Regions from separate parts of the Homo sapiens genome. Here all the other regions are linked to region 2. Evidence: promoter capture Hi-C in 16 types of primary human blood cells and fetal thymus (Javierre and others, 2016). All regions are on one chromosome and are shown on one strand. The core of a region is centred on a gene start or on the middle of the fragment in contact, and the rest is flanking DNA. Distances in the headings are between cores, read along the strand shown. Region 1 overlaps PIK3C2G (phosphatidylinositol-4-phosphate 3-kinase catalytic subunit type 2 gamma). Region 2 holds the start of PLEKHA5 (pleckstrin homology domain containing A5). Region 3 overlaps PIK3C2G (phosphatidylinositol-4-phosphate 3-kinase catalytic subunit type 2 gamma).

The links. Contacts are between HindIII fragments. The CHiCAGO score rates a contact against its expected background, and 5 or more counts as called.
Region 1: a fragment that was not itself captured here is called in contact with the fragment with the promoter of PLEKHA5 in region 2 in 1 of 17 cell types (megakaryocytes); the score reaches 7.0 in megakaryocytes.
Region 3: a fragment that was not itself captured here is called in contact with the fragment with the promoter of PLEKHA5 in region 2 in 1 of 17 cell types (megakaryocytes); the score reaches 5.2 in megakaryocytes.

Annotation. Positions count from the first base shown.
Region 1 is chr12:18,427,864-18,430,563 of GRCh38, reverse strand. All of the region lies in intron 18 of PIK3C2G (phosphatidylinositol-4-phosphate 3-kinase catalytic subunit type 2 gamma), which reads right to left. The region is part of intron 2 of LOC124902891 (a long non-coding RNA gene); the gene reads left to right. Among named protein-coding and RNA genes, the nearest start is that of PIK3C2G, 170 kb to the right of the region's middle. The HindIII fragment of the contact is 554 bases long and covers 1,104-1,657 here.
Region 2 is chr12:19,128,203-19,131,085 of GRCh38, reverse strand. PLEKHA5 (pleckstrin homology domain containing A5) reads right to left here and starts at 1,353. Exons shown (of 32, transcript NM_001256470.2): 1 at 1,198-1,353; 2 at 956-1,035. The coding sequence starts at 1,286. The HindIII fragment of the contact is 7,873 bases long and covers 1-2,883 here.
Region 3 is chr12:18,556,912-18,559,611 of GRCh38, reverse strand. All of the region lies in intron 26 of PIK3C2G (phosphatidylinositol-4-phosphate 3-kinase catalytic subunit type 2 gamma), which reads right to left. Among named protein-coding and RNA genes, the nearest start is that of PLCZ1, 180 kb to the left of the region's middle. The HindIII fragment of the contact is 2,142 bases long and covers 335-2,476 here.

The DNA of each region.
Region 1 (2,700 bases), core at 131-2,630, 700 kb after region 2:
TCATACATTGAATAGTAAATTATTGAATGTCTATAAAGTGCCAAGTACTGTTCTAGGTACTTGTGATATATCAGTGAATAAAGCAGAAAAAAGATCCTTACATTGATAGAGCTTGCAAATGGGAGCCTCACTTCAGGTTATCCCCATACTTTGAAAGGAACATTTTGAAGAGATTTTTGCATTAGGTGCCTTAAGTGACACCTTATAAAAGGAGCTGTGTTATAATATGGTTTCCTACCAGACAGTTTTTCATTCCAATTGGTTCTCTCTTGGAGTTTGTTCAATCAGACTTGGTAGGAGGAGTGGGAAAGACTGCAATACTGTTGTTCTACCTACGATGTATCCCATAGCATACTGATGCTCCAGTTTCTAAAAACACATATTTAAATTTTTATCTTCCATAAGAAATACTTATTGTAGGTCAGGTTCTCTAGAACAGGACATGAGGCAGAATTTCACTGTTTGTGATTTACTGAAGAAGTGCTCTTCAGGAAAAATCTTATGAGGGAGTAAGAGCAGAATTATAGGGAAGGGAAAGGAATTAACAAGGATGAGATCTCGGGTCAAGTCTAACCTTGATCTGATTTATGGGGAGGCTCTGGAATGTAAATTATATCTTAGAGATTTTCCCACTTCGTAGGCCAGGGGGCTGTGGAATCAGAGGCTAATTCTCCAGAGAAGGGGCCGTATTTTGTTAGCAGTCACTGCAGCAGATGGGAGTGGGTGCAGCAGCCAGGTAGAGGCGCACAGCAGTGCCTTTGACAGTGCCCAATTTCATATTCCCTGAGTACCATGGAATTTCCAGTACTGTGTGTGAAAATATTGATGGCCTTACAGACATTTCTGTGGATTCATAATTTTTAAAACATTTTTTGAGTATCTACTGAGTTTCAGATACTGTGCTGGATTGGTACATGGAAGAGTGTGACATGATTGCTGTCTTGAGCTACTCTGTGGACTAAGAGGGGGAAGGGACAGGGCAGCAGTGGTGTCAAGGGAGTGTGATATGATGTCTGGCAGAGTCATGAACAGTATGCTGTTTGACATGATGTGGAAGCAATACTCAATCCCAGATGGTGGCTGGGAGAGGGTCAGGGAAAGCTTCCTGATGATGTGACATCCTAGGCAATTGACTCAGAGCCTTCATAAAGTCTGTTATATTATTTTCCTGTGGCTGCCGTAACAAGTTAACACAAACTAGTGATAACAGAAATGTATTCTCACAGTTCTGGAGGCCAGAAGTCCAAAATCAGGGTGTAAGCAGGGCTGTGCTCTCTCCCAAGGCTCCGGGGAGAACCTTCCTTGCCTCTTCCAGCTTATGGTAGCTCTAGGCATTCCTTGGCTTGAGGCTGCAATCAATGCCTCCCTTTTCATGACCTTCTCTCTGTGTGTGTCTTCTCCTCTTCTGCCTCTCTTTAGGTCACTTGGCATTGGATTCAGGGCTCACCCTGATAATCCAGGGGGAACTAATCTCAAGATCTTTAATTAAATTCTATCGTCAAAGACCCTTTTTCTCCATAAGGTCACATTCACAAATCACAGGTTTCTGAGGTTAGGCTGTGGACATATCTTCTTTGGGGCCACCACTCAACTCAATACTTGACTAGTGGTTAAAGTGTTTCCTATTCCAAATGGAAAGGGGCACTACATTTAAGCTTTTGTAATTAATTGTTACATAATGGGGGAGGGGCCTCCTGGGCATAAGCTCCAAATGTTATGGTTCCCATTTATAGCCACCTTTTAGGATGCAAACTGTGAGGTAAAGCTTTTAAATTCAAACACAAAGCTTCTAGTTAACTCACTTGCCTTGGAAAATAGGGGCTATTCATCCTACATTCACTCTTCCAGTGGAAGAGACTCACGTGAGCCTAAGTCAATTTCACCTCTCAGAAAGGCTACCCACAGTGATGCCAAGTAGTCAAGATGGTTTTCATTCCAATCTTACTTATTCATAGCTCAGTATCTGGTGAGGCAACTTTCTGATCACTGATAGTGACAGGTGGAAGTTGTGGAGCAGGGAGCGCTGTTGAGGATATATAGAGTTATAGGGCTTGGTGAATAATTGGTCATGTTAGTGAGAAACAAGGAAGACCTCAAGACCTGTGTGAGCAAGACAGGATATTTAGTTCAGTTTTGAATATGGTGAATCTGAGGAAGCAGTAATTCATCCACGTGAAAAAAAATCTCATAAACTCATGACTGATGGGTTTCTAGTTTTTTTTTTTTTTAAATAAGACTTTTTTTTAAGGAAAGATATTTTGAGTATTTTTTTTTCATGAATCGTGAGATGGGAGCTGCATCTTTAAAGTTTTAACACAAACATTTTGCACAGAAGCAGTCACTCCCTAAATATGATGCTTGGCTTGAGCTATATTTTTTAACTCTGATATATTTTAAATATAATTAATATTATTTTATGCTTAGTGCATGTTGCCTGATTCTTAATTTTTATTTGTTTTAAGGGGATGTAGGCACTTTTGAATCTCCCCCCTTAGAGGATCAGGAACAATAACTAATAGGTCATAGGCTTAATACCTGGGTGATGAAATAATCTGCACAATAAATCCCCATGACACATGTTTACCTATGTAACAAACCTACACGTGTGACCCTGGACTTAAAAGTTAAAGAAAACTCCTTCCTGTTTTATTTCTCTTTTTTCATATTCTTACAAACAAAGCTCTCAAAACAAACAGTCCA
Region 2 (2,883 bases), core at 104-2,603:
AACAAGTCACGAATGTAAACAAAGAATGATAAAAGAAACCCAGACCAGTACAGAAACTACGAGGAGCCTTTTCCAGCTCCACTCACACTTAGCATTCAAACAAGCTCCCAAAGCCACCCGAGAGAGCCGCTTCCCCACGGACTCCCTCCAAACAGGGCCCGGGTGCCCCCATACGGGACACCCCCTCGCACGCCCACCGCCTCCTGGCAGTCTGTGCAACCTCCGTGCGGCTGGCGGGGACTTTAGATCCGGATCGCCAGCAACTGAGGCTGCGAACGCCTCCTCCGGCTCCGGCTGCTCCTCCCGTGGCAGGAGGGAACGCGCCAAGCGTTTCCCGAGCCGTTCCCTGTCACAGAGAGGATCGCAGCACCCCCGAACTCCTCTCCTCCTCCTCCTCCTCCTTCATCAGCCACCTACCCACAAGTCCCACCTAGGAGGAGGAAGCTGCACGGCAGGAGGCAGCGCTCCTGGGAGGAGGGGGAGGATGTGGTTACGTTATCCCGGCGGGCGATCGGGGTCCGGGGCTGCAGGGAGGGGAGTGGGTAAGGACTGCCTGAAGATTGCTGGGGGGCAAGACGGCAGCTGGGGGTCACCGGGGAGTGAGTAGCGGCCGCGGAGGAAAAACTCAGGACTCCAGGTTTCAGGGAGGGGAGCGTCGCCACTCTAGGGTCGCGAGGGTCGTCTAGGCTGGGATGGGGGGAGAAGGCGCAGGAAGAGGGCGCCGTCTCCAAGTGCTGATGAAAGGCTGAGGAGAAAGAGGCGCCCCGAGACTGGAGAGAACTCCCGGCGGCGGAGTCCCCGTGGCCCCTCTACCTGCGGCCGCTCCCGCCCGGCCTCCGCCCCGCCTCGCCGCCTCCCGGGGCCCGCGGCGCGGGGCAGGTTGCGGGGAGCCGGGCGGCCCGGGCTCTGCCGCCTCCTCCAGGCGGAGCCCAACTCCGTTTGGGCCCGGCGTTACCTGTGCTCTGCCGCCGGTGTCCGGTGACCACCGCCTCGCCGGTGACGGGGTGCAGCCAGGTGGTGCTCTTGGCCTCCTCGCTGCAGGGGTGAGAGAAGGGGCAGACACGGAGCGTGAGAGGGGACGCGGGGGCGAGCCGAGGGGCTGCAGGAGCACAGACCCGGGCTCTCCCCCGTGTCGCCAGCCGCCCGCCTCCTGCCCTCCCGCCCCCGCGGGCCCCCGTGCCGTCCCCGGCTCTTTACTTGATGAAGAAGACTCGGCCGCCCCTGGTGATCCCGTAAGTCCAGGACCGGGGCAGGGAGATCCACTCCAGGTTCAGATCCGCCGCCATGTCTGATCCCTAGCCGCCGCCGCCGCCTTCTCCTGCTGCCGCCGCGGCTGCCGAGGGAGGAGGGAACGAGCGAGCGAAGGGAGCGCGGAGCGAGCGCGCCTCCCCGGCCCGGCGCGCCCCCGCGCGCGCCCTACCCCCTCGGGCGGTGCCCGCCCCGCCGCCCCGGCAGGGTCCGGCCCCCGTCGCCGCCCCTCCGCATCCCGGCGGCCGCCGGCCGGCCGCCCCGCCGCGCGCTCGGGGGATGGGCAAGCGGCGCCGCGCCCCAGACCCCTCCCTCGGGCCCCTGCGGCGCGCCCGCCCCCTCCGCCGCGCGAAGGTTCCGGGATCGATTAAAAAAAAAAAAAAAAAAAAAAAAAAACGCGTCCTGCCCCCAGGGCTTTGCCCGAAGGCTTCCCATCCCAGGGCGCGATCAAAGGGAGCCTAATAATGCCCAAGCCCCTGATTTCTCTCTTTCAAACAACAAAAACACAGCGTCTGAGCTTTGTTTTATAAGAGCTGTTGGAGAGCCAACAGATTTTTCCAATATATTTATCGTTTTAAAATGGAAAGCTGTTTTTATTAAAGCACACGAAAGGCCTTTCCTGTTTGTTTGTTGTGTGCCAGATATCAAAGGTTGGACGTGATACGTGGCCCCATGAAATATGAGTGGATTTAGACTTGACAAAACAAGTTTTTTCTCTTCCTAGGCCCCTTAGGTCATATCTTATAAAATAAAAACTCGTCTTTTTCTGGTACTTGTTTTTAAAGATTCACTTAACATCAGTGTGGATTTTTACTTGCCCTGTCTCCAATAGATTACAATAATAGCTTATTTTATGGAGTCCTTGTGACGGTGTACATTTTTAAATCTTCACAACAACTATATATATATGTGTGTATATATATATATGTGTGTGTGTGTGTGTATATATACACACACACACACAATCTATAAAAAATCCCCATTTTACAGATAGGAAAAATGAAGTTTAAAAACACAGTAGTTTGCCCAGTCATAGTAATAACTGCCAAAGCCTGGATTCAAACTGGCTGTAGGATTTCAAAAGTATATTTGTATAACCTCCTTGCTGTACAAGCCCACTTTGTTTTACTGCGATTCACTTTATTGCTGTTTGCAGATCTTTCACATCTTACAAATTGAAGGTTTGTGGCAACTCTGCATTAAGCAAGTCCTAGCACCGTTTTTCAACAGCATTTGCTCACTACATGTCTCTGTGGCACATTTTGGTAATTCTTGCAATCTTTCAAACTTTTTCATTATTGTACCTGTTATAGTGATCTGTAATCAGTGATCTTTGATGTTACTGTTGAAATTGTTTTGAGGGCACCATGAACTGAGCCCATGTAAGACAGGGACTTAATAAATGTGTGTGTTCTGACTGCTCCACCAACCAGCTGTTCCTCTGTCTCTCTGCTTCATCTTGGGCCTCCATATTCCCTGAAATGAAACACTAATAATTGTCTAATAATAATGGCCTAATATTGAAATTAGGCCAACCAGTAACCCTACAATGCCCTTTAAGTGACCAAGTGAAAGGAAGAGTTGCATGTCCCTTACTTTAAATGAAAAGCTAGAAACGATTAAGCTCAGATGTAT
Region 3 (2,700 bases), core at 156-2,655, 570 kb after region 2:
AGCCCCAGTTGAGAATTCATAGATTGCCTAATATTTTTATATTTGCCACAGAACCCTCACCCTTGCCTGTGAAATAGAGTATGCAAAAAGTACTTCCAATTTCAACTGCTTTTCTCAAATTAGCCTGCTCAGCTTCCAACAAATAACTGTTGACTCTTTTGGAGTACTGCTCTCAGGTCAGCCAGAGTACCTGTGGTTTCCCTTAGCTTCCTTCTGTCCAAATGCTCATACGACACAAATCTTGTAATTTAATGGTTTGCCTCCACCTGCTTTTATTGTATGGTTCTTAGGGTATACCTTGTTGCCTAGTTTTGTCATAAATGTTGTCCAAGCTTTTGGATTTTGCTATCCTGGTTGATTTGCCTGTTGTATGTAAGAGATTTAGGGACATTTAAAAACTTGGCATTTTAGCATATATAATTCAAGCAACACAGGAAAATATAAAGTAAAATGTGGAAGGTTCCCTTTTTCTTTTCTCCACAGGAGGCCAGTGCTCCTCCCCAGAAATAACCACTGTAAGCAGTTTGACATCATTCTTTTTTGAACTTTCTCTATATATTTGTGCAAACACAGAGACATGCAAACATACAGACATGCAAACACATAGACACACACATTGTCCTTATTCCTATTGTATGCCAGGTACTATTCTGGTGATGGGATTTAGCAATGAACAGAAGAGATGGAAGTTTTTCGCCCTTTTAGAGTTTGTATAATCTAAAATTCTGATGGTAATTAATCAAGTAAAAATATAGAATTTGATAAAGTAATATGTATTATAAAAGAAAATAGGAAATAAGGAGAGGAAGTATGGGGGTAGATAATAGCTTTACAGTTTTAAATAGGATGCCCACTGAAAAGTGCTCATCTCACTGAAAGATGAGCTGAATGATTTGACAAAGACCTTAACTTGCCATGAAAGTAGGCCATGGGAATTCTGATGAAATGCATTTTAGGCAGAAGCAACAGCTAGTCCACAAGCTCAGAGGCAGATGAATGACTAGAGTGTTTAATGAGCAGCAGTGTGGCTGACACAAAGTCAGTAGAGAAAGAAGGGAATCAAAGACCTAAAGGGCACAATTGCATAAGAACTTTGACTTTGTGTGAGATGAGAGTTAGAGAAGAATCACAATTGTATGTAATGTTGCAATTTGTTTTTGTTAACTTAATAATATATTTTACAGGGAAAAATTAATAGTAACTGGTACATAGTAAGTGATCCAAAAATATTTGTTGAATGACTGAACAATCTTTCTAATTCAGAACATAGCATTAAATCATATTTTTAAATGGCTATATGGTTTCTCCAAATAGGGATGAACAATGTTTAATGTAACAATTTTTTAACTTGCAAAGACATTTTTTTCTTTACTGTTTAACTTTGTCCAAAACCAAGGGTCTGTATATACACAAGACTGTTTCTGGCCTCCTCGTTTTGTTGCATTTATCTCTTTGTCTATCTCTGTGTCAGTATTATACTATCCTAAATAGCTGGAACTTTATAGTACATCTTGAAATCCAGAAGAATGATTATTTTACCTCATTTTCTTTAGGGGGCTCTTCACTATTCTAGGCCCTTTGGCCTCCTAAATATATTTTAGAATTAGCTTATCAAGTTCACCCACACACAAAACCAATAGGTAAGGATTTTGAATGTACTGTATGTAAATTAGAAATCAATTTGGAGAATATTAACATCTCTGTAGTATTAAGACATTCAGTTCACGAATGTGGTATATCGTTCTATTTAGTTTGGTCTTGCATATTTTTTGTTGGAGTTATTCTTTGGTTTGGCATATTTTGTATGGCATAAATGCTATCTTGTACTAACTTTTAATTCATATTTGATAATATATGAGTAGATCTTTAACTCTTATTAATTCTAACAACATATGCATATTCTTTTGAAATTTGTATGTACACAGTCATGTAACCTGCAAATAATGGTAGTGGCTGTTTTTGTCACTCTGCACTGCTAAGAAACTTCCACTTCAATATTAAATGGAAGTGGTGATAGCAACCATTTTTGGTGTGTTCCTGATTACAAAGGAAAAACTTTCAATGTTTACTGTTAAGCGTAATGTTTTCTGTAGGTTTTTAGCTATACGTTAATGACATTCTTTTCTATTTCTATTTTTTTCCTAAATGAATGGTTCTACATTTTATTAACTACACTTTCTGTATCTATTTAGGTGATCATATATTTTCTTTTTAATTTTTAAAGTACTGAGTCTTAAATGTTTACTTTGTAACCACTTATTTTACTAAATTCTTGTTATTTTGATTTGTTTGTGTGTGTGTGTGTCAATTCTCTGGGATCGTATTAATTATTGTATTATTCACTTGAAAAAATAACTTCATAACAAAGTTTAATTAGAGAGCTTTATTATCAATATAGAAGATACTATCTTTTCCCCACCATTAATAAGAATGCTTATCATTTTTAACTTTTGAAAGTATGATGCTTATCTAAGCTTGGATCTATTCTGAGTGTACTAAAACTTTCCAGGAGGAATGGATGTTGAATGTAATCCAGTATGACTTTTCTGGGTTGGCATCTATCAAAGTGATCATGCAATGCCTTCTTTACAACTAATCTGCCATGTCCTCAATGTTAAAAATGTACTTCAATTATGTTTAATAATTTTCCCTTCAATTTCATAAAGATTCAAGGCCATTTATCTTGTTCTGGTCTTAAAC